Linked DNA regions of Homo sapiens: all the other regions are linked to region 4. The links are contacts of gene promoters, found by promoter capture Hi-C in blood cells and fetal thymus (Javierre and others, 2016). All regions are on one chromosome and are shown on one strand. The core of a region is centred on a gene start or on the middle of the fragment in contact, and the rest is flanking DNA. Distances in the headings are between cores, read along the strand shown.

Region 1 (7,374 bases), core at 427-2,926, 150 kb before region 4:
AGCCACCGCGCCCGGCCCACAGTACAGTTTTACAAAGAAAGGTGTAGCTCCAGGAAAGGAAAGGAATAACCTTTACCATTGACTGTGCTGCAGGACTCTAGCCCTGATCTGCTCTCTTCTGGGAGCATCTGATAGAACAAACAGAAACCCCTCTCCCACTGTTCTCCTGTGTCCAGAGTGGGAGGCATAACTGCTTTGCCTCCAGTCATCATCTGGGGGCATATCTACTCTTCGAGGACCAGGGGTTCGGGACCCTGGAACAGGATCTGAATTCCAAGCTGACCTCAGGGGTACATGAAGACTGCTAGATGGTGGGTACACAGGATGAACAATGGGAGGGTGGGAGGGTGAATGGAAAAGATCACTCCAGGACTGAGTGTGAGGAACCTGAAGGCCCTTGCTTCTTTCTGGTAGTGTGGCAGTGTAGGTTAGTTGAGGATTGCACCCTGGAGTAGTCAGGAATCTGGTCCCAATATGCTGGTTGGTCTCTGACCAGGGTGCCCAGGAGTTGTCTGTTCTGGAGCGATGGGGGAGGCTCTGGTAGTTCAAAGTCCTTCCTGTGTACTTGGCCCCTTGGGAAGTTTCACCCCTGTCACACATAGCCAGAAACTGCTGGACACTCCTTGAAGTTCCTGGGGAAAGAAAAGAAACCCAAAGACTGAGCATCTTCAGAAAACCATTCTCCTTCCCAGAGAGCCATGCCTAGCTGTGTAGCCCAATTCCCTACTCCTCCAAGAGCATACATACAAGGGAAAGAATGAATCAAGCTGTGCTTTTGATTCCATTTCTTAAAATTCTTAATATACATCAAAATCAAATCTCATACCTCCAACCTGGGCAAATGAAACAGTCTCATGGATGTTGCCATACCTCTACCTCCCTCCACTATAATCTCTCATCCACTATACACACACCTACAAAAGAAGGGCTCCCTAATATATAGCAATATATGGCAAACGTATACTCCCTTTGTGATGACTATACTCCTAGAGCCACCATACCAAAACCTCACGCAGCTTTTCTTTTTAAAAAAAATAGAGACGGGATCTCACTGTGTTGCCCAGGCTGGTCTCGAACTGCTGGACTCAAGTCATCCTCCCATCTTGGCCTCCCAAAGTGCTGGAATTACAGGTGTGAGACGCTGTGCCTTGCTTTTTTTTTGTTTCTCCAACTTTTCTTAAAATGTTACCTTCACTTCAGTTAAGCTGCCTTTGTTTGATCTCTGAGATCTAATGTGGAATGCCTTTTCTTATACATTTATTCAACTTTGGCACTCTTGGTATCTTGGGCTGATAATTCTTTGTTGGGGTTGGGGAGAGACTGCCCTGTGCATTGTGTGATTTATTAATGAAAAATACTTTGCAAAAACAGTATGTTTGGCCTAAAATAGTTCAGCTGACTCTGAGGGTTTACAACAACAACTGAGCAAGTGACAATAATGGCTGTGCTGTTGAGGACATCCCTGGCCTCTACCCACTAGATACCGGTGGTACATCCCCTTTATCCATTGAGAACCACTGCCTCAAGCTTGTACATCCAGTGCATGAGGGGAAAAAAGAGAACATCTCACTCGGAAGGTCAAAGAAAGCCAAAATGATATTGCCCACCTTCCCCACAATTGTCTGGGTCTGTACACATGGTGTGGGTACTCCATGTAAAGGGTCTTTCCAATTCTCCCACTCATTCCTTATCTTCCTAGACCATCCCTCAGCTGAGACTCAGAGGATAGAAGGGGAGAAAACTAGCTCAGAGGATAGAAGGAGAGATGACCATTTCTGTTCTGGGGATGTCCCAAAGACTGGGTATTAACTCCCCTTTGTCAGTTAAAAGCTTATTCTGTCATGACTGAAGCAGGTCATTTTCGTAAGTAGACAGACTCTAGGGGTGCTGGTCTAAACCCTTGGTCTAAGAATCATGGTGCCCAACAAATGATTTAATATTTATCTAGATAAATGCACGACTTTGAAGCAGTAATTCATATCTTCACACCACTCCACCTTGGGATACCCCCCTCCCCATAGGTATACTGATTTGACCCTTGGAGGCCCCTGAAAAGGTACCAAATTCTGGCATATAATATTAGATTTGGGGGAGTTACCTGGGAGTCTATTGGGCTCCCCTGCCATGGTGGGCATCAGGACATCTGGGGACAGGAACTGTGGTTGGGGAAGGTAGAGTTGGGGACCGAGGAGAAACACAGAAGGGTCATGGATGACAGGGAGGGAAGAGGAGCTGGAACAACGGTGCCCGGTTTCCAAAGGCTTCCTCACGTTTGATGAATCCTTATAATGAGACAAGACAAAAAAACATAGAGATGAGGATTAACACAAAGCAGGATGTAGTTGGGTAAACACAGTGAGGCAAGCAAAGGGAAATGGAGGGAACCAGAGCACAAACATGCCTACATGCCTTGTTCTGGAACAGGACCCAATTTACTCAGTTGCTCTCCCTGCTAGCCCTCTAAGAAACTGCAAACTTCAGATCCTTATCCCTTAACCAGTCTTCCTCATATCCCTCACCTTCCCAACCCTATCATTCAGGTCTTTAGCAAACTCCTTAATGCTAACAGTAGAATTAGAGAGATTGAGATAGAAATTTAAAAATAAAAACGAAATATGAGAAATTCAGAAAGCCTGAGAGAATGAGAAAAAAAAATCCTTCACTTATTCTAAGTACTGGGAATGAAACTATATATGTTTAAATGTAGAATCAAGAACTCTACCCCATCTTCTCTCCTGTCACTGCTACACATTCCACAGCTTCCTCTTTTGCCTGTCAAGTTTGTATTTACTGATGCTAATGTCCTGCTCTACTCCCTATTAGTTATCTACTTTTATGATAAATACCCAGAAATATTCCCCTTTAACATCTGAAACACTAACATATCCAAAATTGAACCAAAATCCTTCCAAACTCCTCCTCCTGGCACCTCATTTTCCTAAATCACCCATATTCAAACATTGGCAATGACCTTGATTTCCCACTTCCCATCCACAATTCCATTACTTGCCAAGGACTATCATTTCTACCTATGGGTTTTATATTTAAATTCACCTGGACTACTGCAACAGCCTTCAATCTGCTTTTCCTATCTCCCATCCACTCCTCCTTACTGTGGCCTACAAGGTCCTGTGTGATATGGCCCTGCTGCTCCTCACTTTATTTCCTATCATTCCTGGAGCTTTTACACTCTAACTTTAATATTCCTCAAACACACCAAGCTCATTGCTACCTCAGAGTCTTTATACTTCCTGTTTCTGTTACCAAGAATATTCTTCTGATGGCTCATACTTTCATATCACTGAGATCTCTAATCAAAAGTTACTTCCTTAGAGCTGATTTCCCTCACTACCCTACTATCAGGAATAGCCCTCAAAAAAACCACTATTACCTCTTTACTCTTTATTCTCTTGCCTTATTATTCTTTATCATACTTATCATTGTCTGGCATTATGTCATTTATTTGTTTATTGTCTTCTCCCCTATTTCTTTTTACTTCTGTATCCGCAGCACCTTGAACAGTGCCTAGAACAATGTGGGCACTTAGTAATAATACATTAAATAAAATAATCTATATGCCAGTATGTCTAATTTCCTTTACGAGACTGCAAGCTACTCAAGGGCAGAATTTGTGTTGTTTCATCAGTGTATGCTCACAGCACCTACTACAAAATGGCACAAAGTAAGCATTTATCATACTGCCTAAGGACCAGGTGCCAGTCCTCTCAGCATGTGACACAGCTAATTATTCCTTTCTTCTTTTTTTTTTTGAGACGGAGTCTCGCTCTGTCACCCAGGCTGGAGTGCAGTGGCGCAATCTCGGCTCACTCACTGCAAGCTCTGCCTCCTGGGTTCACACCATTCTCCTGCCTCAGCTTCCCAAGTAGCTGGGACTACAGGCACCCGCCACCGCGCCCAGCTAATTTTTTTGTATTTTTAGTAGAGACGGCATTTCACTGTGTTAGCCAGGATGGTCTCAATCTCCTGACCTTATGATCTGCCCGCCTCAGCCTCCCAAAGTGCTGGGATTACAGGCGTGAGCCACCGCGCCCGGCTATTCCTTTCTTCTTGAAACACTCTCCCCTTGGTGACTATGGTACCACACATCCTTGGTTTCCCTTCAGTCTCTCTAATCTTTTTTTCTCAGTCTCCTTTTAGGGTTCTTCAGAAGAACCACCTTAAATCTGATGCTCTTTAGGGATATGTCCTGGCTCCTCTTCTCTTTCTGCAAGTCTTTTCCTCTTTTTCAATGGCTATGATTCCCAGATTTCAATTTGCAGCTTATATATCTCATTCCAAAAGCCTGCCAGATACCTCCACTCAAGCTTAATATATGTAAAACTGAATGCATATCTTCCCTCAAATATATCATTATCTACCCATAAAACTTGAGTATCATCCTTTATCCCCACTCCCAACATCCAGGCAGGCACCAACTCCCACTGATGTTTACTTCCTAACTGGGTCTCAAATACATCGACTTATCTCTATCCTTCCAAACTACTTACTGTGACATACAGGGCTGTCTGTGGTCCATAATATTCTTTGTATCCTCTCTTGTCAACACTCTCCATCATCTCCCCTTGCCAGACTTTCTAATCCTGCCATACTAAATAAGCTTCTTTTAATTCAGTTAATATTTGCTCAGGTCCCTTTTACTTGCTATATTCTTTTTGCTTCCTCCAGGAAGCCTTCCATGATACCTCAAGCCTGATTTAAATATCCCTTCTATTATGTTCCCATAGGATCAAATCCTTAACACATTATAACTGTTTGTTTATTTATCCGTCCCTCACTGTAGACTGTAAGCTCCATAAAAGCAGGGACTATATCTAACTCACCATTGTAGCTCCAGCACCTAGCACAATACCTAGAACACACTCAATAAGCACTTATTTATTTGTTTATTTTTGTGCTAGGAATCTTGTACAGAATCAATAAGCATTTATTTAAAAGAATGAATCAATGAATGATACAGAAGTCAGAAGAAAGGAAGCCAACTCTCCTAGGAAAAGAACAATTTGCCATTAAATGAATTGAAAGTACATGAGAACAAATGCTAGGCAGGAGAGTCCACCTTTTCCAAAAAAGAATGGCAGCCTGATCAGAATTGCTTAGGAATTTATGAACGATAAATTGAATGAAACTTACTATAAATTCGGCTGGGTTTTTTTGTTTGTTTTGTTTTGTTTTTGAGACAGAGTCTTGCTCTGTTACCCAGGCTGGAGTGCAGTGGCTCAATCTCAGCTCACTGCAACCTCTGCCACCCGGATTCAAGCGATTCTCCTGCCTCAGCCTCCCGAGTAGCTAGGACTACAAGCACCCCCCACCATGCCTGGCTAATTTTTATATTTTTGCCATGTTGGCCAGGCTGGTCTCGAACTCCTGACCTCAGGTGATCCACCATCCTTGGCCTCCCAAAGTGCTGGGATTACAGGCATGAGCCACCACGCCTGGCCTCGGCTGATTTTTAAAAATTGGAAAAATGAGTACCTCTTAGGAGGGAAACTGAATCTGAAGGGCTGGTAGAAGACAGACTTGGTTTTCACCATATATGCTTTTATACCTTTTTATTTTTGTACCATGTATTTAAAATCTGTTTTTACATTTTTCCTGAACTGACCTAGTGGACAACCTTCAATGCACTGGTACTTTGTACCCTGACCTCTACTGTGATGAACACTCAACTTGGGCAAGGAAGTGAAATTCTCCAAAGGTATGATTACCTACAAACCTAGCCACTGATATTATTTAAGTTTGTTGATCTCTAATGGCTTGGGCTTTCCTGCCTCTTCTACTTACACATTACTGCACTAGTACCATATGAAAATTCTCAAGAAGGCTTTTTTCCTCTTCTTGCTGATACACATGCATCACTTTAGATTGAAAACACACTGAATTCTATTCAATCACATACTGGGGGTGAGAGGAAAAAGCAAACCAATACTCCATCCCATTTCTTTCCTTCTTTCTTTGATTAGTGCAGTGGGTTCTGACCCAATCAGCAGCCTTTGCTTCTCAGATTCCTCTCAAGGCTTTATGACTCTTCTCACCCCAGGAAACCCTACAACACGCACGGCCTTTCAGAACTGCTACATGGAATGGACATTCCTCTGGGCTCCAGCTGAATGTTTGTAAATAAAATAATGACTGCGTGTCCTTATTTTTGCTGAGTACACAGGGCCTTTCCTCACATTACAACCTTCACTTTCTCCCTGCTTCTTCACCTGCACTGTATTTTTGCTTAGCAAGGAGGAGGGTGCTCTGAATAGATGGACCCTGATTCTACTTACAAAACTGTGGGAAGAAACCGGAGCTTCCTCCCTCTCTGAGACAACGGTGCCACTGAGACTGCGTGAGATGCGACGTAAATTCTCTGCACTGTACTGCTCATCCTCCCCACACTCCCTGCTGAGGCCTCGGCAAGGTGTAGCCTTCAAACACACAGACACATACAGGCAGACACATAATACCAGACTTATGGTTTTCCCACAGACAGTATCCTCAGGGTATGGGAAAGAGTAGGGGAAGACTCAGTAGTAATAGACACCTGAATTAGATGTATTGGTAAGATAGTGGCCATGTAACAATCTCCTCTAATTCAAAAGAAGCCCAATCATAGACCTTATTTTCTTCTGATAGCCCCATATCACCATGCCTCTGCCTTATCATCATCCCTGTCACATCTCTCCATAATTCCTTCCCCAACACACCACCCCAGGCCCAGCACCTTAGCACCTGAGGCTGCTACCTGAGAAGTACGCACTGTTCTGGCTTCATGGAGACCATGCTCCATTTCTGCTGTTGAAGTCTTTGAGAGACCAGGATCATGGGCTGAGTGCAACCTCCTCCCCATGCCATCTGCAGAGCCTGAAGAGGAAAACACAAATACAAGTTGAGGCCATCTCTTCCCCTAGGGCCTAACCTCTAAGCCTAGCAGCACAAACTCAGGAGCTGTTGTTTCATTTAATAATAAATATGCATCCTTGAATTCAACGGAGGAACATGCTCCTGGAATTTAGAAGCAAGAGGGGCTGGGCGCGGTGGCTCACACCTGTAATCCCAGCACTTTGGGAGGCCAACACGGGCAGATCACGAGGTCAGGAGATCGAGACCACCCTGGCTAACATGGTAAAACCCTGTCTCTACTAAAAATACAAAAAATTAGCCGGGCGTGGTGGCAGGCACCTGTAATCCCAGCTACTCGGGAGGCTGAGGCAGGAGAATGGCGTGAACCCGGGAGGCGTAGCTTGCAGTGAGCGGAGATCACGCCACTGCACTCCAGCCCGGGTGACAGAGCGAGACTCCGTCTCAAAAAAAAAAAGAAACAAGAATTTTAGAATATAGATAGTTTACTGAGTGTCCCCATCTTGC
Region 2 (7,028 bases), core at 2,400-4,899, 170 kb before region 4:
AATTTGGGAAAAGTTGACGAGGCTAATAATCAACTATCAGCAGGAGGAAGAAGAACTCAAAATAGCAAAATTCCTAAGGGAAGCAGGACAGACAGAGTCTAGAACTTCCTTCCACTCTGAGAATCCTAGCACACCTCAGAAAAAAAGGTATATTGGAAACACTGGAGAAGGAGATATAAACAACAGTAACCAACATAAATTCACCAGGTAAGGTTTCAGTATCTACTAGGGAAGGTGGTTAAAAGCATATGCTGGGAGTCACATTGCCTGGCTATGCTGTTTACTAATAATACCTTGGGCAAGTTACTTAACCTCTCTAAGCCTCAGGTTCCTCATCTATAAAATGAATAAAACAACAGTACTTACCTCATTAATATTATTGTGAGGATTAATCGATATGTCTTCAGTGCCTAGAACATGCTTAGAACATATTAAATGTGCAACACAGGTATCTATTGGTAGAAATTTGACCCCACAATTCTACCTCTAGGAATTTGTCCTACAAAAATAATCAGGCAAGTATGTAAAGATGTATGAATAATATGACTCATTAAAGCATCATTTGTAAAGAAAAAAACTGGGAACATCTTCAGTGTCTAACACAAGGAATTAATTAATTATGGTTTGTTTATTAGATGGAAAACAATGTAGATATTAAAATGATGCTACGAGTTTATATTTACTGACTTGGAAGGATATTTGGTGTAGGCATGTATGAAAAAGCAAGTTACAGACAATATTATAATATGATCCCCTTTTCATTAAAAAAAGAAAAAATGTATATATTGGAAAATACATATTGTTCTACATTTGCTGCATTTTGTTTATATAATTTAAAAAGATGGCAGGGCAATGTGGCTCACATCTGTAATCTCAACACTTTGGGAGTCCAAGGCAGGAGGATCACTTGAGCCCAGGAGTTCAAGACCAGCCTGGGCAACATAGGAAACTCCATTGCTACAAAAAAATTAAAAATTAGTCTAGGCATGGTGGTGTGTACCTGTGGTCCCAGCTATTTGAGAGACTGGGACAGAAGGATCCCTTAAGCTCAAGAGGTCAAGGCTACATTGAGCCATGCTGGTGCCACTGTACTCCAGCATGGGCCACAGAGTAAGACCCTGTCTCAAAAAAAAAGAAAAAGAAAAGAGAAAAAGGAAGAAAAGGAACCATCTACTGTTAAGTGATAATCAAAAGGTCATTTTAATGCCTCAAGTTTTTAAAAACAAATTAATACTTTCCAAATACACAAAGATTCCATAGGATATACTTGAGTCTTAATAGCTACACAAGGAGAAACAGAAGCACTAGGGCTCAAGCAATAAAAAAATCACAATATACTTTATTTAATCAGACAGAATTCAAGTAATCTTTTTTCACATGGTTTAATGCCTTTAGGGGCAAGAGAGATAAATAGCACTAAATTTTTAAGGCCACTAGTTAACAGGGCAATAAAGACCCCTCAGTCAGCTCATAAATTCCACTGGGAAAAAAATGGCAATTATAATTATATAAACAGAGTTATACAAAGAAATTTATTTGAATTGTTTGAAAGACAGAACAGGAATAAATAGTAGCTTTTCATAAAAACTTCAGAATATGCAGAGTTATTAAAAAAACCTAACACAGGTACTTGTGAAAACTAGGATTAAGTGAAAGCATCTGTGTTAACACTTAACAGCAAATCAAATGACAGTTTATGATTATTACCTCTATACTAAAATAACCTCTGTCCACATAATCGCCAAGAAAAAGGTATCGTGTATTAGCAGGTGATCCTCCTACTTCAAAAAGTTTCATCAGATCAAAAAATTGGCCATGGATGTCACCACACACTGAAACAAGAAGATTATTAGATAAGGGAAAAAAATCTCTAAAACAACAAATTTTACTTAAGTTAAAACGTATTTTACATAAGACATAGTACAAATGCTATCAAGAAATGTCTGAGAAGGAAGTAGTCTATGAACAGTCATGATTAGGATGATGTGTAACCAAGTGTTCATGTGCTCAAGATCTAGAAAAAGATGTAACAGAAATAACGAAATTTGTGGTCAGTGACAAACTGAAATCTACATTTATAAAGATCGTCTCTAGGACTCCAAGGATGTGTTTTAAGTTTCAAGATGACAAAATTACAATGGTGGCAGTTAAAATATCCATTCTAACTCAATACTTTCTGTTGCTCTCTAAATGGTCACTTTTGGTATCTGATATGACATCAAGGTATTTGACCCTAACAATTGAAAGCAAAGTAAGTATTGATCAAATTGAAGTATGGTCAACACAATTGATGAAACCTTCACAAAAGCATATTAGACTAACTTCTACACTCAGATTATTTAGAATCATGTCTATTCACTGAAAACAGGCAATCATTTTTAAGTATGGAAAATAATTTGAAATTCAAGATAATGTCCAAGTAATATTGATTTAGCATACAGTATCATTGAAAACAGTAAGTTGTAAATCCAGGCAACTAAATAATGACATAATAAAAATAATACCCAAAACATGAATAAGCTTACCTGTGATTGGAGCTTCTACTTCTATCATGGTTTTCTCTCTCCGAAGGATGGCAGCACCCTCATTGATAATTCTAAGCGCAATTTCTTCATCTACTCGACCTTCTTTCACCAAGTGGTTCTTCAGAACATCAACCCTGGGTATCCCATCCAAATCAAATACTTCTTCAGATGTCAAGCGATGTGTTGGGGGGAAAGGGACAGCTGCAAATGTTTTTAATTAATAAAAGATAAGTCACCAAAAATACATTAACTTAAAAACTAATAATTGGATCTAGATAAGACTAAAAACTGTAAAGCAGGGATTTTTCTTTCTTCTTCATTTATTGGGTAGAAGTGTTTTTCTAAATAGTAAGCAAATTATACCACTTTTAAAGCTATTTATACTAACATGTTCTTTGTTGAGAATTATTAGAGAAATGAGTTGTCTCACAAAATTAAGTTCTTTCAGGATAACCAAAACTTTTTTGTTTAAGCCAAAACATTTTTAGGCAGAACTCTCAAAATATTGTATTATAGTATTAGATATTCTTTACCTTAAATGAAGTACAATAAATATAATTTAATGCTGGGAGTAGTGAAGCATGTCTGTAATCACGACTACTTCGTAGGCTGGGGCAGGAGGATCACTTGAGGCCAGAAATTGGAGACCAGCCTGGGCAACACAGCGAGACACCATCTCAAAAAAAACCCCACAACACTTTAATACCAAATAAGCCTAACTAGAAAGAAAACCCAAATACAAGGTGATTTACCATGTTCCTTTCTAATAAGAACATAAAAACAATGTTTTCTGACCAACTTGACTATACACTTTTAGAGATATAGACCAAACACCAGATGTTTACTTCTGAAATGCAAATTAATTTAGGAGGCTTAAAATAATAAATCATAATTTCAAAATACTGATTTTTCTCCTACCTTACTTAACGTTTCACAAAACACCTTCATTCAAAATCTTTATGCATATATTCGAAACCAGTGCATTCCTTATCATTGAAGTCACTTTCTGAGTCACCTAACACACATTCTGAAAGCAAATCATACTCATTTCCACCTAAACTGTTTGAGATACAGCACTTTTTGCATATGTGTAAAATGTTACCACTGCAAATTTATCCCTGTAATTTTTTTTTTTTTTTTTTTTTTGAGATGGAGTCTTGTTCTGTCGCCCAGGCTGGAATGCAGTGGCGTGAACTCGGCTCACTGCAACCTTCGCCTCCCGGGTTCAAGGGATTCTCCTGCCTCAGCCTCCCGAGTAGCTGGGATTACAGGCATCCGCCATCATGCCCAGCTTATTTTTGTATTTTTAGTAGAGACCGGGTTTCACCATGTTGGCCAGGCTGGTGTCGAACTCCTGACCTCAGGTGATCTGCCCGCCTTGGCTTCCCAAAGTTCTGGGATTACACGCATGAGCCACTGCACCTGGCCTATCCCTACAAATTTAACCAAAAGTTCCCATTTCATCATAGTTAAGTAGTTGGTTTTTTCACTCCGCAGTACATATTTATGATTTCTGTAAGAAATCACCAACTGTACTGTTTTTAAGTGATATTTGTTGAGTGGAATGGAAAACATGAACATCTATTTCAATGGCATCTAAGCACAATTTTGAGGTCATATACCTAGGAAAAATTACTATATAGTAAGTTTTTCTTATTCCTTTTTTACTGAATCCAACAAGTAAATCTTTATGCATTCAAAATCAGCTTGGACTGAAGCAGTTTCAGGCTCTTTACTGAATAGTACTTTGTTTTTCAAAATAAAGAAAGTGAGAGAGAAATGTACATTAGGAGTCTAATAAATATAGACTGAAATGTAAGGCAGCTCCCTCTTTCCAGATTTTTTTTTCTTTTTTTTTTTTTTTTTAGAAAAATAGGCCGGGTGCAGTGACTCACACCTGAAATCCCAGACTTGGGAGGCCAAGGCCAGTGGATCACTTGAAGTCAGGAGTTCAAGACCAGCCTGGCCAACATGGTGAAACCCCATCTCTACTAAAAACACAAAAATTAGCTGGGTGTGGTGGTGCACACCTGTAGTCCCAGCTACTCAAGAGGGTGACGCAGGAGAATCACTTAAACCCGGGGAGGCAGAAGTTGCAGTGAGCCTAGACTACACCACTGCACTCCAGCCTGGTCGACAGTGAGACTCCATCAAATATATATATATATATACATATATATATCTCTGAGCATATAGTATACAGTATTTTCCTGATGCTTTAGGGTCATCATTGTAATGATCAATTATTACAGAGAAGCTTGGAAATGTACAGAACCAACTGCTCCTTTACATTTCAACTTAAAGTAACTAAAAAAAAACAAAAAAAAAAACTAGGTTAGATTCCTATCAATTACCTAAGAAAGAATATAACCACATTCTCATACCAGGAGAAAACATTAAGGAAGAACTCAATCCTTTACAAGTGAGGTAAGAACTAAGGCAGAGAGATGCCAACCATTTCTAAAAGACTGAAATCACTAATCCCTCTTTTTTTTTTTATTTGCTATCTAGTAAAATAAAACTGGACCTTGTTTATTTTCCCTTCACAAGAAACATGTATTACCATTACTTTTTACTCATCTAGAATAAGGCATTAAAGTATATTTTACCCCCAAATATAGCATGTCAAGATTCTAATAAAATAAAAGCCTCAAAGAATGTTTTTACCAATCAAAGATTAAACAAACCATTATATATGCTATAACCAAATTTGCCCTCATGGTAGAGTAATTGTTTAAAAAATAAACATTTTTAATGAATTGATTACTAAATAAATCAAGTGTTACTTTTGGGACATTACAAAAATGAGAAGGTTAAATATCTCTTACTAATAAACACAAATTTCTGAGATCAAGATAGAATCAGTTTTTTCATCAGGTCAGAGAATTTTTTTTTTTTTTAGCACTCTACTTGGGAAAAGAAACACTATTTAAAATGCTACGTACTGGCTGGATGCAGTGGCTCACGCCTGTAATCCCAGCACTTTGGAAGGCCAAGACGGGCAGATCATGAGGTCAAGATTTTAAGACCACCCTGGTCAACACGGTGAAACCCCGTCTCTACTAAAAATACAAAAATTAGCTGGGTGTGGTGGTGCACACCTGTAGTCCTAGCTACTCGGGAGGCTGAGGCAGGAGAATGGCGTGAACCCGGAAGGCGGAGCTTGCAGTGAGCCGAGATCGCGCCACTGCACTCCAGCCTGGGCGACAGAGCGAGACTCCGTCTCAAAAAAAAAAAAAAAAAAAAAAAAGAGACTCAGTCTCTAAAAAAAAAGCTGTGTTCTACATGATGAATATTTCCTATTTATTTATTTATTTTGAGACAGAGTCTCATTCTTGTCTCCCAGGCTGGAATGCAGTGGCGAGATCTCGGCTCACTACAACATCCACCTCCTGGGTTCAAGCGATCCTCCTGCCTCAGCCTCCCAAGTAGCTCGGATTACAGGCACCCGCCACCACACCCGGCTAATCTTTGTATTTTTAGTAGAGATAGGGTTTCACCATGTTGGCCAGGCTGGTCTCAAACTCCTAACCTCAGGTGATCCGCCTGCCTTGGCCTCCCTAAGTGTTGGGATTACAAGCGTCAGCCACTGTGCCTGGCCTAGATGATATATACTTCCTAACAACCAACAACATAATTCCACTAATTGCTGAATTCTGTTCAAAACATAGAACTTCCTAAAAATCCACCTATGAGACCACTCCCTACTTCCCCCTCAGCCAGACACAAGTGGTACTGCATGTTTTCACGCACACTGTGAATGCTCTACTTCAAGTCACACTGAAGAACTATAATGTATTCACCTGAAAAAGAAAGTATAAACTGACTCCATGCCACAGTTAGTTATCTAAAGACCTGTACTTTCCTACTTATTTTTCAACTCAAGGCACACTTCTACATTTCAAAACCAGCTGGGACAGCTTTTTTAAAATGTGTACAGGTTGAGTGGTAGAAAAACGTCACCTACTCATGAGTAGAGGTAGATGAAAGCTATAGGGAATCAATGTTACCATAACACTGAAAATAAAAATAGGCAGTTTCAAATGAATATGTTTTGGCTGGGCGCAGAGGCTCACCCCTATAATCCCAACACTTTGGGAGGCTGAGGCAGGTGGATCACTTGAGGTCAGGAATTCAAGACCAGCCCGGCCAACATGGTGAAACCCCGTCTCTACTAAAAACACAAAAAATTAGCCAGGCATGGTGGCCGCATGCCTGTTGTCCCAGCTACTCAGGAGGCTGAGGCAGGAGAATCGCTTGAACCGAAGAGGTGAAGGTTGCAGTGGGCCGAGATCATGCCAGTGCATTCCAGCCTGGGAGACAGAGCAAGACTCCGTCTAAAGATAAAAAATAAAAATAAAATAAATTTTAATTTATCAGCAAATAAGAGAAAAAAGGCACGTATAGTGTTGTTTTGCAAGTGGAGAACGGAGCTTCAGCAGGAGACCTGACGGGGCAAAAGATAACTGTCCAAATAGAATTTGGCCTAAAATAAGTTGCTCA
Region 3 (7,310 bases), core at 3,226-5,725, 130 kb before region 4:
TCCATTTCATGCTGTCATGCTGAATCACTCTCAAACACCTATGAACCATTCTTTTTTTTTTTTTTTTTTTGAAACGGAGTCTCATTCTGTTACCCAGGTTGGAGTGCAGTGGTGCGATCTCAGCTCACTGTAACCTCTGCCTCCCGAATTCAAGTGATTTCCCTGCCTCAGCCTCCCGAGTAGCTGGGACTACAGGCAAGTACCACCACGCCCGGCTAATTTTCTGTATTTTTAGTAGAGAAGGGGTTTCACTATGTTGGCCAGGATGGTCTCGATCTCCTGACCTTGTGATCTGCCCGCCTCGACCTCCCAAAGTGCTGGGATTACAGGAGTGAGCCACCGTGCCCGGCCCTGAACCATTCTTTAGCACAGCATACTGGAGAAGCCATGGGCAAATACTTAGTAATCTCTTACTTTAGAAGGAGGGAAGTTGCCTATGAGTGGTAATTCTGCCCCTTCCTCCACTCTAGCCAGAAAAATGTCTAGGTCTTGTCCTGAAGGCTTTCTGAGTAAAGTCAAAAGTTCTATTACCTCCTACTAAGCTGGGGATAGTATCTGTATAGAACACTCCCTTCTGATCTTTCCCTGCTTTCAGCTTTTATATGATCCTCCCCCCTCCCCCCAACCCCTGGTTGCATTCTTACCTGTTTGGCTAAGTGGGTGCCAGGCGGTATCCTGCTGCCCCCATCCAGAACAGCCAGCTTGAGAAGCCTGAAGACTGGCCTGATACAGAGACTCCAATTCTGAGGTCTCCTGCTCTGTGTCTTGGTTCCAATGTGGATGCAAAAGGATGTGATTTCTCTCTGGATAGGTTACACACGTATGGGAATCATGAGGGGAGGACTTCATTCCTGGCCTAGGTGCCCCATGCTTAAGCTGAGAATCACAGAACCTTGTGATATTCACCCAGGAATCCAAAGGCAAGGAAGTCCCCAAGTCAGTACTGCTGCCCAGATCCTTAGACCTAACATCTCTCACTTGGGACAGCTTCTCTTGGTATATGTCTGGCTCTGCCAACCTGGGCTGTCCTCCGCTAGAAGTTTCACCATTAGGCAGCCCAGAGTTTAAGGCAAGAGAAGAATGTTCAGTGGACTCTTCCCAGGAAAGTGGTCTATCCCCACCCTCCAGAGAGGATTGTTGCTTTGCCCATGGCCAGTGGCCTTTCTCTTGACCCTGTGAGAAAGGAGGCTTAGAATCAGAAGGGGAAGAGTTCTTCCTTAGACTACCTGACAAACTTCTATCCTTGAAACCTGTACTATCCCTCATGGAGACACCCTGCATCCTCTGGAACTGCTCAGCCAGAGAACGGACAAGCCCCTTTGTGCTGGGAAACTCTGGCCTATAGGTCTCCTCACTGCCTCTGTCCACTTTTAAAGTCAATGAAGTTTTGAGGCTTTGGCCTTGGAGGCATTGGTTAGTTTTCTGCACAGGATCAGGACAGTGAAGCACAAATGAAGAAGCAACAGGCATTATGGGGTGGCAGGTTCTATACAGGGGAAGGCTGGGCTGAGCTGATGAATTTGAAGGACTACAGCCTAGGCTGTGTTCATCACCCCTCTCAGAGGTGGCTATTCCAGGCATCACCGGGGAGGGGTTAGCAGGATCCTTCTTTTCTTGGAACAGCTGTTCTTGAGCAATGCCTCTTCCTTCTTGTGGAGGGAGCTTGCTGCAACTGCTGTTGTCACACCTAGAGCCTTGCAGCTTACCCTCTGGGGCATCCAATGGCTCCCAACTATGATGAGAATTCTTCTCAGTCCACCCTGGTGCTTTAGGTAAACCTTGCCTGTGGAATGCAGAGGGTTCAATGTTGTCTACTTCAACCGAAGTCAGAAGCTTCAAGGCAGATCTACTGGGGGAGCTGTGCTGTGGGGCAGATGACTCTGGAGATAGTGATGAGTGTGACTCATGGCAGGAAGCAGGTGAATGGAAGAAAGAACTGGCCCCAAACTCTGTATCCATGCCGGATTCCAGTTGGGCCTCTTGGCTTAACAATACTTGGAGCGGGATAGGCTGTTCACTGAAACAAATGGAGAGAGCTAGTCATAAGCTGCCTTGACTGACAGGAACACTTACAGAAAGAACTCAACATTCCATTCCCATTTCTAGCTATTCACACAGGGAATGGTAAAAATAAACAGAAAGACAAGCACAAGTAGAGTCAGTAGTTCAGAGGATCACAAAAGAAAAGGCACATGGTCAGCTCACACTCAGGTAAATAGGTAACGTTAATCCTCTTTATTAAACACCCTCACCAAAGTTGCACAGTAACATTAAGTGGAGCCCTTGCCAATATTCTTCACTACCTGTGAAGTCGCATTCCAATCACATTCTACTTGCAAATTAGGAAACAAAATCAGCTAGTCTCACATGCAGATGACATGGAAGGTAAGCAAAGCCTGAAAATCACTCATACCAAACAGCAAAAATCCAGGATGCTATACAGGGAGGCAAGTCCTACCTGGGGTCCTGAGAGGCAGCCCGGCCAAAGGAACTATGAGGCCACATTTACAAAATACAGGGTGATTTGGGCTCATGGGAATACACAGAAATTAACCATTTCAAATATGTTTTTATAATCTGGATTTTGTTCTATTAGTCACTGAGATGTTTCCCCAAAGCAATATGACTCTCTTGAGATTTAGGAGTAGGAGTAGGGATTAACTGTATTTAGTTGGTTTCTCACTAATTGTTTTGTATTTCTGACTTTAAAAACTTAATGTTACAAGGACTTAAATAAAGCCTCGATCACTCACATACATCAGGATGTATACGTTTTCTGGAAACGGTTTACCTATCTAAATTGCTTATATTCAAAACAAGCCCCTAAATTTGAATGAAAATATACTATCAACTTTTGAGGATATAGTCACCCAGTCACCCTTATAACATTATGGAGAATATGATTTACTAATATGGGAAGCCCAATCATACAAGGCAATATTACATAATGGTTAAGGACATGTGCTTTAGCATCAAATAGACCTGCAATTTTTTTTTTTTTTTTTTTTTTGAGACAAGGTCTTGCTCTGTCACCCAGGCTGGAGTGTGGCAGTGCCATCACGGCTCACTGCAGCCTTGACCTGCCGGGCTAACCGATTCTTCCACCCAAGCCTCCTAAGTAGCTGGGACCACAGGTATGCACCACCATGCCCAGCTAAATTTTTTGTGTTTTTTGTAGAGACAGGGTTTTACCGTGTTGCCCAGGCTGGTCTCAAACTCCTTGACTCAAATAATCTGCCCTCCTCGGCCTCCCAAAATTCTGGGATTACAGGCGTGAGCTACCATGCCTAGCAGTTAACTATTTTTGAACATTTGCCTTTTGAACATTGAACCCAGGAGGTTGAGGCTGCAGTAAGCTGTGATCGTGCCACTGCACTCCAGCCTGGGTGAAAAAGCAAGATCCTGTCTCCAAAAAAAAAAAAAAAAAAAAAATGTTAACTGCTTTTACTAATTTATATTTTGAAAACTACTCAGAATTATTAACGGTCCAAATTAATGTTTATTTAAATTCATCTATTCTAAGTAAAAGCCAAATTCCAGGGCTAAGATGTGAGAACTACAACAATGACTACTGGAACTTCTTTCCTAGTCCTGACCATAAAGAAGCAAAGCAAAGGGAATCTTTGTGTCTCTTCTCTATGGTGCAATCAGAGCAAGAAAGACTGCTTTCTCTGCTTCCATAAGGATAGGAAGCACTGAAATCCCAAAATAAATCACATGGTAGCTACTACAACATGAAATGTAGCCTGGATTGCCATGTCTAAGAACATAATATATACAAATATAATAATCGCGTTATTACACAAGTCCAGGGCTAAAGTTACCCATGGGAAATGTGGACAAATGGTCTTATTATGCTGTACTTTTTGCATCCTAGGAATTATTAAGATAAGGACCAGCAGTACAATGAGCTTTTCACTGTATGTCTGACCTGAAAGAAGAAAATCTTTTCAGAGGACTCCTCTCTCCCCTTCAGTCGCCAAGACAATGAGAGCTCTTGCTACAGAATACTCATGGTCATTTCTTCCCCTGGCATTCATAAACTAACATGGTTCCCAAGCACTACCTTGTTGGCTGAGAGAGAGTCCCCGCCTGTGTTGGGAGGCAGGCTGAGGGCTGCGACGGCTGCTGTGGTGATTGCTGCTGCTGCATGCGATCCTGCAGGCTCCGTGCTTTTCGAATACTGATTTGCAACTTCTTATCGACTAGGGCTCTGCTGTGCGTGCTACAGCTGGCACCATGCAGGGCAAGTCTTAGTTTAGCTAAAATGCAAAAGAAAATATAGCAGAAACAGAACACAAAACACAAATAAAAATAAAAAGAATAAAATTGAAAAAAAATGAGCAAAGATATGCAGTAAAACTCAAAATATGTAGCAGGAACGCAAGGCATGGACCATGCATATGCTGTCCAGGGCACACAGCTGCCTCTGGCTATAAGGAACATTGATGGAAGCCATGGAGGCCAAACAGGTTAATCCAAATTAAAAAAACAAAACTAAAATAAATCAAGAAGATAAACCAGTGCCTCCATCTTAGAGATTGCCACTCTTGTCCTTTGCATCTGACCTGTCTGACTCTGGTCTCCACACTCTACTCTCACCCCTCTCTTCCCAATGGCCAACAGCAGAAATAAGATCCAAACCTGCATCTGTCTTTATAGACCACAGCTTCTTGTGGGTCACATACAAGAAGCTGATACCAATTCTAAGCCTTAGTCTCTTGCTGTAAGTTTATGGTGCTGCATACTATGAAGGTAGGGGAGAATCAGAAAGAATCAAATACTGAATTAAAAAGTCACAGGCCTGGGAAGTCATAGCCAATTTATTCAGTTTTCCTTCTATAAGCTCCAACCCACTAGCCAGTGACTAGCAAAAGAGCAGACTAATTTCACATCTGAGGTCTAACTTTATCCTGAAATAAGAAGGTAGGCATGACTGGAGAAATCATCTATGGATTCCTTGCTGAGGTTATTCTGGTAAATATCCATAGGCCACAGTGCCAGTGCCAGGTACACTTAGAAATCAAAGGGCAAAAACAGCTAACGCGACTCAGTTTGGGAGAGCAAGAGTGAGGAGACACAAAAACTGTTTTTATCCTGTCTGAGTGACAACACTAATAATACCTATTGTGAAGTTAGTCAAAAGTGCCACAGCCATAGCAGTTAGAGTTACTTACAGATAGCTTCATTACAGAGAGCCAAAGCTGCAGCACAGTCTCCTTTCTGTTCCAGATGTAGTGACTCTTCAAACACTGACTCTGCCTCTTGCAGGGACCTCTCAAAGCCGTCACTCCTCCCTGAAAGGGCCAGCACTTTTCATTTTCATTACAATTCATTCCAAATTTTCCTGTGTACTGTTGTTTCCCTTCAGTACACAGAGATCCTTGCTGCTGAGCCACTGGTCTACCCTTATTCCAACTGTCTATTCCTATTAAGAATTATCTGAAAACAAGCAGGACATCCATTTTGCCTTAACCAAGATGTTACCAAGGCCATGAAAGAGAGGCATGCCATTAATGGCCACATATTCTAACACCAAGACCCTTAGGAAGTCCCTCAAGGAAGGAGCTCCAGTGGTGCAATCGGTTAGCGCGCGGTACTTATATGACAGTGCGAGCGGAGGAAGTCCCTCAAGGAAAGAACAAAGTAATAGCAGAAGGTTAGGTTCTTATGCCCGGAATTGAACTGCTCTTTCCCAGTGCAATTCTTGCCAACTAGTGTCAGAACACCCTAGATGTCAACTAAGACGTTCACTGCTATGTTATGGCAAAGGTAGCTTCATTATTCTGTGGACAGCCATTCATACCACTTATTTACTTCACCAATTCACAGTCCTCTATGCACCACCCTAAACTGGAAAATCAGTGCACTTCTTGGTCACAGATGGTCTACACTTCCTAATCCAATGTATCTGCCAGGGCAGTTGAACTGCCTTCATTCCTGGTTTGCATATACATACTTGTCATAAGCGTTGCTAAGTATTTACTTTCATCATGCTATTCCTCACCAAAACTACCCCCAAAGAAGTCACCTTCCCATACAGCAAGCAGGGAATATTCCATCCTCCTCTCAAAGTGAATGTGTGCCAAAGCAGGTGCAGAAGAGTCTAAAAACAATACCGGATGAAAAGGCTAGGAAGTACAGGCAGAAAAATTTTTGTAAAAGAACTCTCATGTTTATGTATCCCTTGCCCTCTACTTACTCATAATCATACATTGGCAGCAAGCTGTAATGTAATTTCACCTACAAATGGGATTGCCAGTGAGCCTTCACAAGGTTGCAGGGAAAAAAAAATGTCTGAGTCACTTCTCCCATAATGTCCCTCATCCTCCACTTACCTCCAGCAGGACATGGTAAGAAAGGCTCTTCCACATCCCTAACATTCACTTCCTAATTCATCATGACTTTTTGAGAGCAATGGGAAGACAATGGAAACAGCAGGTTGGTTCTGAAGAACTTGGCACTCAGGATCCACTCTATCTCTAGAGGTGTGGTTTCCCTTACTCCCCAGACCTGAAGTTCTCTCATAATATTTGTAATCAACTAAATGTATACAACCTTTATAATCAGAGGTAGGGCGTAGAGCCATTTTTTTTAAGTTCTCTACTCTATGGAGATCTAGACAAGCTATAGTTGATCAATCACTGTACTAAATTTTAATTCTTATCCTTCAGAATCTTAGCATTCCATTCCTTGCTCATGCAGGAAATGCTGAACCACAGTGTATAGAGAACTGACAATGAAATATTGCCAGTGGGATCTCCTCCTAACTTTAATCTATTGCCCAACTGGCAGAGAGAGAAAAAAAGGAGAGAAATGACAAGACCCCTTTTTTCAGAAGCAAAATAAACCTGGGACACCAATGTGATACAGCTTGAGGTCAAAAAGGGAAAAAAGACTATCCAAATATAGAGACAGCTAAGTATTAGGAATTTAAAACTAATTTGGAAACTAATACAATGTCTTGGGAAATATAAGGCAACAATTACCTTGAATCAAAAGAGAGTAGTATTAAAGGAAAAAAGCTGCCCCCAAACAGGATTACTTGGCCCAAGAAGATTCTCTAAGTGTATATAAAAAGAGAAAAGTGGTCAACAGAAAACAGCCAGCAAAGTTAAAAGCTTGCACTTACAAACTGGGACCTTCATACTGCTTTAGCACAATTTGTTGTAAGTGGGGTTTCCGAATTATAAAAACAATAAAGTCATTTTATAGGAAAAAAACTAAGATATATGGCCTATTTAAGGTAGATACTTCAGCTTGGCTGAACTATTTTGAAGGCTAGTCTCTTTTGGTACAAAGTGACATCC
Region 4 (7,306 bases), core at 973-3,472:
TGCAATCCCAGCACTTTGGGAGGCCGAGGCGGGTGGATCACAAGGTCAGGAGTTCGAGACCAGCCTGGCCAACATAGTGAAACGCCGTCTCTACTAAAAATACAAAAAATTAGCCAGGTGTAGTGGCGGGCACCTGTAATCCCAGCTACTCGGGAGGCTGAGGCAGGAGAATTGCTTGAACCCAGGAGGTGGAGGGTGCAGTGAACCAAGATTGCACTCCAGCCCGGGTGACAGTGCAAGACTCTATCTCAAAAAAAAAAAAAAAAAAAAAAAACCAGAAAAAAAAAAGAACCCCTGTAGCTTTGACCCACTTTTATTTATTAATTTTTATTATTTATTTATTTATTTATTTTTAAGACAGGGTCTTGGTCTGTTGCTCACGCTGGAGTGCAGTGGCGCAAACATGGCTCACTGCAGCCCAAACCTCTCAGGCTCAAGCAATCCTCTTGCCTCAGCCTCCCAAGTAGCTGGGACCATAGACATGTGCCACAGTGTTTGGCTAATTTTAAAATTTTTACTGGAGACGAAGTCTCACGATGTTGTCCAGGCTGGTCTCAAACTCCTGGCTTCTGCCGGGCATGGTGGCTCACGCCTGTAATCCCAGCACTTTGGGAGGCCGAGGTAGGCATATCACCTGAGGTCAGGAGTTCGAGACCAGCCTGACCAGTATGGTGAAACCCCATCTCTACTAAAAATACAAAAAATTAGCCAGGTGTGGTGGCGGGTGCCTATAATCCCAGCTACTCGGGAGGCAGAGGCTGGAGAATCGCTTGAACCCGGGAGGCGGAGGTTGCAATGAGCCAAGATCACGCCATTGCATTCCAGCCTAGGCACAAGAGCCAAACTCCATCTCAAAAAAACAAAAAACAAAACAAAACAAAAATCCTGCGTTCATGCTATCCTCCCACCTCAGCCTCCCAAAGTGCTTGGATTACAGGTATGAGCCACCTTGCCCCGCCTTCAACCTGCTTTTAAATACTCCCCTGTCCTGTGTCTGTACTCTGCTTTCACCCAATCATGACACACAATAACAATTATCACCACCACCAAACCCTTCATCTATTTGTGTCCCTTTCCAATTTCCCTACTTACCCTGTTCCTGGGTTGAACTGAATCACCTTACCCTTTTGCCACATTGGTTCAAACAGCAAAAATAATGGTGGCCATGAGAATAATTATGCTCCCCTTCTACTCATTACCCCTCCTGTCCCCAAGACTGTATCCAAGGGTCCCAAGGTAGGGAGAATGTACGGCTATAGAAGGCTGGATTTAAGGCTCAGATTGAAGGATCCTGGCTGGGGAAAAGGGGTTCAGGCACTCACTGGCTTGCTTGGCCTTCTGGGTGTAGGTGGTAGTAAGATCTTCTGCCACTGGGTGGGGAACAGGCCCCACCATAGGGATGAGATGAGGACCAGGTCGGAGGGGGCCATGGGGTAACAGCAGAGCCTCAGCTGGGGGTGGCTGAAGGGCTGCCCCATCCTCCCAAGACGGGGAGCTCACACGGCTGTCACCCTGGCTGGGAGGGCCAGGGATAGTAGGTGCTGGCTCTGCAGGGCTGTCAGACAGGTAGACCTCATCAGGTGGGGCACCCGGAGGGGTGGGCCTTGTGGGGCCTCGGCGGCGAGGTCGACGGGGCTTCTCCTGGGTGGCAGGGCCATCAGCATCACTGTCAGTCTCTCCGTAGTAAGCCTCACTATCAGGAGGTGAACGAAGGCTCCCAGGCTGAAGAGGCTGAGGAACTGGAGCACCAGGGGGCTCAGGACTTAGTGGAGATAAGGGTGACAGCACCTGAAGCTCATGGGGAGATGGAGATTGCACAGGACCCTCGTCTGCTAACCTGGATAGGAAAGATGACAGAGCTTGAGAGATGGGCTGGGTACTGACAGCTAGAGAGATCTGGAAGGGATGGAGGGAAGAGGTAAGGGGGAGGGAAGAGGTAAGGGAGAGAGAAGGCTGTCATACAGTTGGAATGGGTGGGCCGGGAAGAGTGGAGATATGAAGACAAACTGGGAGGCAAATGTGCTTGAAGGGCTGTGAGTGGAAATAGGCTTAGAGGAAGATGTAATGAGGAGGAAACAGGCCAGGGGTTGAAGTAGGCTCATCAGTCAAATACCCACTGACATCCCCATCCCTTAATTGCAGATACATTCAAGCCCTCTGGGAGGCAGACACAAACCATCTGCACTCCAGCAGAAACGCACGAGCAGAAATAGGTACCTGTTAGTTGCTAAAGCCAGGCCAGTGAGACATAGAGCTGAGACAGGCAATGGGAGCCCTGGATTAGGGGAAGAGAAGAGGAGAGAGGTCCATACCGCTGCACAGTGAGGACAAGCTGATTTCCTGAGGCATCGATGAGGCTCATGGCACTGGCATGGGAGAGGTTGGTGCAAGAGACCCCATTGATTGCCAAGAGCTGGTCCCTCTCTCGGAGTCCTGCTCTGCCAGCCTGGCTCCGTCTTCGAATCTGAGATGTTGAAGGAGACACTGTAGGTAAGAGGGGGCTCCAAAGGGAATAGAATGAAAGGAAAAGATGGGAAGGACCCACAGGAGGGGATTTTACTTTGCAGGGTAAGAAGGGTGGGGAGATGCATGGAAGTGGCTGCAGTTGAAGTGGCCTGTCTAGAGGGAAGAAAGTATACAGACTGGAGAAAGAAATACATCATATGGTGGGAAATAGGGTAACCATTGAATGAAAGAGGCTTGGGAAGAACTGCATGGGGTAGGTAACTAGAAATGGTGGTTATTGGCTGGGTGCAGTGGCTCACGCCTGTAAGCCCAGTGCTTTGGGAGGCCTAGGTGGGTGGATCACTTGAGATCAGGAGTTTGAGACCAGCCTGGCCAATGGGTGAAACGCTGTCTCTACTAAAAGTACAAAAATCAGCTGGCCGTGGTGGTGTGCGCCTGTAATCCCAGATACTTGGGAGGCTGAGGCAGGAGAATTGCTTGAACCCAGGAAGCAGAGGTTGCAGTGAGCCATCATGTCACTGCACTCCAGCCTGGGCAACAGAGTAAGACTCTGTCGCAAAAAAAAAGAAAAGAAAAAAAACGGAAAGAAATGGTGATTATCTCCACAAGCTTTTTCTCCAAGGGCAATATCTATATTGGCTGGTAATTCTCTACTAGGCCTTGTAACCCCAGGCGCCATTACACAGTCAAGATTTTAGAACAGTACTCCAGGTTGGAGGGAGTCCAGCGGTATTCTGGGAGATTGTGATTATTTGGGTATATGTGTGCCATGTATACACACAAATGTATATATGCCAAAGTAATAATAGTAGTAGTGGCTACCATTTATTGAGTTCTTACTAAGTGTTGGGCACTGTGCTACATGTATTATTGCATTTAATCCTTAGAATGGTTCCATGAAGTAGGTACAGGTACTATTATTACCCACATTTTACAGTTCGGAAAACTAAGCCTGTAGGGTGAAACCAAAAGGATAATGACTTCATCTGTGAGGCCAGATCTTGCCATAACCCTCCTAGCACCTAAAAAAGTCTTGCCTAGTGAGAGAAAGGATCTGACCTAGGGAAAGAGCACTGAAGGCATGGGCAGGGCAGGGTGAGGCAGGGTAGGGCTGGGCTGGGCTAGGCTGTTCGAGGCAGTTTCAGTTCATCACATATCAGTTTAGTCAGAGAGAAATTAGAACCTTCCCCGTATTTCTGGAGTTTGGAGTAGAGGCACATACCCAAGAGAACAAACACTGGATGACCAGAGCTGGGCCTCTGATACCACAGTGCTGCAGGGAACTGAAGCAGAGCCTTTCCTTTTCCTCTGCTCCCTGGAAACCGCGAATTCTCTTTTCTAATAGACCCCCACAGGAAGCCTGTGGTCAGACGCTACTCCCACTATGAGACTTGAGCATACTTCCCTGCCCACCACCCACCCCATCTTCACAGCCTCCCACCCCCCCAACCCCCGCCATATGCCACCACACATCTCTTCCCAGGATCCCTTGGGTTCCCTTTCCCTGAAGCCTCATTTCAGGGGCTCTCCCTTACCTTAGACACCTGTAACGGTTTCCTCTGCTCGGCCCCCCCATGAAGTCGGAAGCCCCAGGGGGCTCCCCCTGATAGTGTGACCAGCACCTCCTCCTCAGCACCCATCGCTCAGCTTGGCCTATGGCCCCCGGAGTTTGAACAGTGTCCCCAGGAGAGAAGTTGAGGTGCTCGAACCCCGTCTGGGCTTCCTGTCCGGCTGTCCTGCTCCTGCTGCCCCAGGCCTCCCCCCCACACCACACACCACAGGCAGGCAACTTGGCCCTGGGATCATTACAGTCCAGCACACATGTCCCGTCAATCGCAGATGTGCTCAAAATAGATGCCGCTTGTACTCCCCTCCCTCCCCCTTCTGTGTTACTCCTAGAGCTAATTATAGTACAAACTTCTGCCCTCCATGTTCCCAATTCTCCTGCATGGGCCTTTTATTCAGGACTCAGAATACAAACTCTCTGGGCTCTATAACCAATGTACACCCTTTCAGGAACTGTGCCTTCTCTAATAGGACCATGGGCTAATCTCAACTGCTTTCCTCCAAAGACCCTTTCAAAGTGGCAGCAGCAGGGGCTTCAATTCCATAGCTGGCAAAGAATGGCTGGGCTTGCTCCAAGATCCCAGGAAAGAATGCACTCTCGCTATATAAATTTATCTGTTAATTAATAAATGGTGGGCCAGGCATGGTGGCTCACGCCTGTAATCCTAGCACTTTGGGAGGCCAAGGTGGGTGGATTGCTTGAGTCCAGGAATTTGAGACCAGCCTGGGCAACATCGTGAGATGGCCCCCCATCTCTATTTTCTTATTATTAAAAAAAGTTAAAAAAAAAAACCAAAAAACTATAGGCTGGGCACGGTGGCTCACACCTGTAAACCCAGCACTTTGGGACCAAGGTGGGCGGATCACGAGGTCAGGAGATTGAGACCATCCTGGCTAACACGAGGAAACCCCGTCTCTACTACAAATACAAAAAATTAGCTGGGCTTGGTGGCAGACGCCTGTAGTCCCAGCTACTCTGGAGGCTGAGGCAGGAGAATGGCGTGAACCCGCGAGGCAGAGCTTGTGGTGAGCCGAGGTCGTGCCACTGCACTCCAGCCTGGGTGACAGAGCGAGACTCCGTCTCAAAAAAAAAAAAAAAACAAACAAACAAACAAAAAACTATAAAAAAACAAATTACCTATTGCAATACATACGTGGTCATGGAAAGGTGTGTAGGTGTGCATAAACATACCAACCCATGTTAATACAATCTCTACTTGTCTCTAGGTTTCCATTACGAGAATGTCTCTGTTACAAGGCATAACATTATGGTGCTATAACTGTGATTATCAAAGGCTACAGAGTTTCATAAAATAGCTGCCCACCTAGTGTATGCTAAATACCGTTTGCCTTGGCATATGCCTCTATGTCCTAGAAACACTTGGGCTGGGTGCAGTGGCTCATGCCTATAATCCCAGCACTTTGAGAGGCTGAGGCAGGTGGATTGCTTGAGCCCAGGAGTTCAAGACCAGCCTGGATAACATGGTGAGACCCTGTTTCTACAAAAAAATACAAAAAAATTTAGCCAGGCCTGCCTGGTCACATGCTCCTATAGTCCCAGCTACTTGGGATATTGACGTGGGAGGGTTGCTTGAGCCCTGGAGGTCGAAGCTGCAGTGAGTCGTGATCCTGCCACTGCACTGTAGCCTGGGTGACATAGTGAGACCCTGTCTCCAAAAAAAAAAAAGAAAAAGGGGAGAAAACATTGGAGGCAACAGAGGGAGACCTGATCTCCAAGAAGAAAATAGTTGGGATTTTGGGGTCAGAAGAATTGAACTTGGGTTCTTTTTTTTGAGATGGAGTCTCGCCCTGTCGCCCAGGCTGGAGTGCAATGGAGATCTTGGCTCACTGCCACCTCTGCTTCCCAGGTTCAAACAATTCTCCTGCCTCAGCCCCCTGAGTAGCTGGGGCTACAGGCATGTGCCACCACACTTAGTTAGCTTTTTGTATTTTTAGTAGAGACGGGGTTTCGCCATGTTGGCCAGGCTGGTCTCAAACTCCTGACCTCGTGATCCGCCCATCTCAGCTTCCCAAAGTGCTGGGATTACAGGTGAAAGCCACTGCACCCGGCCACCCCCTTTTTTTTTTTTAGACCGAGTTTCGCTCTTGTTGCCCAGGCTGGAGTGCAATGGCATGGTCTCAGCTTACTGCTACCTCCACCTCCCAGGTTCAAGCGATTCTCCCGTCTCAGCCTCCCAAGTAGCTGACACTACAGGCACCCGCCACCATGCCCGGCTAATTTTTGTATTTTTAGTAGAGACGGGGTTTCACCATTTTGGCCAGGCTGGTCTCGAACTCCTGACCTCAGGTGATCCGCCCACCTCGGCCTCCCAAAATGCTGGGATTACAGGCATGAGCCACCGTACCCAGCTTGAATTTGGGTTCCTCAATAACTTACTAGCTGTGTGACCTCAGGCAGGGCAGTCACTTGGCCTCACCAGTAAAAAGAGGATTTAGGCCAGGCTCGGTGGCTCACGCCTGTAATCCCAGCACATTGGGAGGCCAAGGTGGGTGGATCACCTGAGGTCAGGAGTTCAAGACCAGCCTGATCAACATGGAGAAACCCCGTCTCTATTAAAAATACAAAAATTAGCCGGGCATGGTGGCGGGTGCCTGTAGTGTCAGCTACTTGGGAGGCTGAGACGGGAGAATCGCTTGAACCTGGGAGGTGGAGGTAGCAGTAAGCTGAGATCACGCCATTGCACTCCAGCCTGGGCAACAAGAGCGAAACTCTGTCTCAAAAAAAAAAAAAAAAAAAAAGAGGATCTAAATATCTATTCATTCACTATTCAAACATTTATTGAGTGTTAGCTACATGTCAGCCATTGTGCTATACCAATGGATTTCAATTAACCCTCAGTACATATTAAAATCACCTAGAAAACGTTTACAGCTACTGAGTCCCTAAAAAAAGACAGCATATCAGCATATAGGATTAAATGATGATGCAATGAAGTTTTACACACACACACACACACACACACACACACACACACACCCAGATCTCATCCTTAGGGACAGATTTTATTGGTCTGGTACCTGGTAGTGGCATTTTAAAAAGCACCACAAGGCCGAGTGCAGTGGCTCACGCCTGTAATCCTAGCACTTTGGGAGGCTAAGGCAGGTGGATCACCTTAGGTCAGGAGTTTGAGACCAACCTGGCCAACATGGTGAAACTCCATCTCTACTCAAAATACAAAAATTAGCCAGGCGTGGTGGCGCATGCCTGTAATCCCAGCTACTTGGGAGAATCGCTTGAACGCGTGAGGGAGAG

Evidence for each region. Contacts are between HindIII fragments. The CHiCAGO score rates a contact against its expected background, and 5 or more counts as called.
Region 1: a contact is called between a fragment that was not itself captured here and the fragment with the promoter of SYNPO2L-AS1 in region 4, in 1 of 17 cell types (endothelial precursors). The highest score is 8.9, in endothelial precursors.
Region 2: a fragment that was not itself captured here is called in contact with the fragment with the promoter of SYNPO2L-AS1 in region 4 in 2 of 17 cell types (endothelial precursors and total CD4 T cells); the score reaches 6.1 in endothelial precursors.
Region 3: a contact is called between a fragment that was not itself captured here and the fragment with the promoter of SYNPO2L-AS1 in region 4, in 14 of 17 cell types (endothelial precursors, M0 macrophages, naive CD4 T cells and 11 more). The highest score is 11.9, in endothelial precursors.

Annotation. Positions count from the first base shown.
Region 1 is chr10:73,498,557-73,505,930 of GRCh38, forward strand. USP54 (ubiquitin specific peptidase 54) reads right to left here. Exons shown (of 24, transcript NM_001391956.1): 21 at 6,752-6,870; 22 at 6,294-6,434; 23 at 2,099-2,282; 24 at 1-632. The coding sequence ends at 73. It overlaps PPP3CB-AS1 (PPP3CB antisense RNA 1), which reads left to right. Exons shown (of 5, transcript NR_132104.1): 3 at 1,039-1,131; 4 at 5,628-5,716; 5 at 6,722-7,374. Among named protein-coding and RNA genes, the nearest start is that of PPP3CB, 6.2 kb to the left of the region's middle. The HindIII fragment of the contact is 303 bases long and covers 1,526-1,828 here.
Region 2 is chr10:73,476,792-73,483,819 of GRCh38, forward strand. It overlaps PPP3CB (protein phosphatase 3 catalytic subunit beta), which reads right to left. Exons shown (of 14, transcript NM_021132.4): 2 at 2,526-2,726; 3 at 1,708-1,832. Among named protein-coding and RNA genes, the nearest start is that of PPP3CB-AS1, 15 kb to the right of the region's middle. RefSeq lists silencers at 1,866-2,066, 3,426-3,626. The HindIII fragment of the contact is 2,262 bases long and covers 2,519-4,780 here.
Region 3 is chr10:73,515,731-73,523,040 of GRCh38, forward strand. It overlaps USP54 (ubiquitin specific peptidase 54), which reads right to left. Exons shown (of 24, transcript NM_001391956.1): 18 at 5,178-5,297; 19 at 4,067-4,262; 20 at 645-2,017. Among named protein-coding and RNA genes, the nearest start is that of PPP3CB, 23 kb to the left of the region's middle. The HindIII fragment of the contact is 5,288 bases long and covers 1,832-7,119 here.
Region 4 is chr10:73,651,817-73,659,122 of GRCh38, forward strand. It overlaps SYNPO2L-AS1 (SYNPO2L antisense RNA 1), which reads left to right and starts at 2,223. Exons shown (of 3, transcript NR_187519.1): 1 at 2,223-2,490. SYNPO2L (synaptopodin 2 like) reads right to left here and starts at 4,213. Exons shown (of 4, transcript NM_001114133.3): 1 at 4,002-4,213; 2 at 2,313-2,464; 3 at 1,323-1,837. The coding sequence starts at 4,106. RefSeq lists a silencer at 4,155-4,449. The HindIII fragment of the contact is 5,539 bases long and covers 1-3,073 here.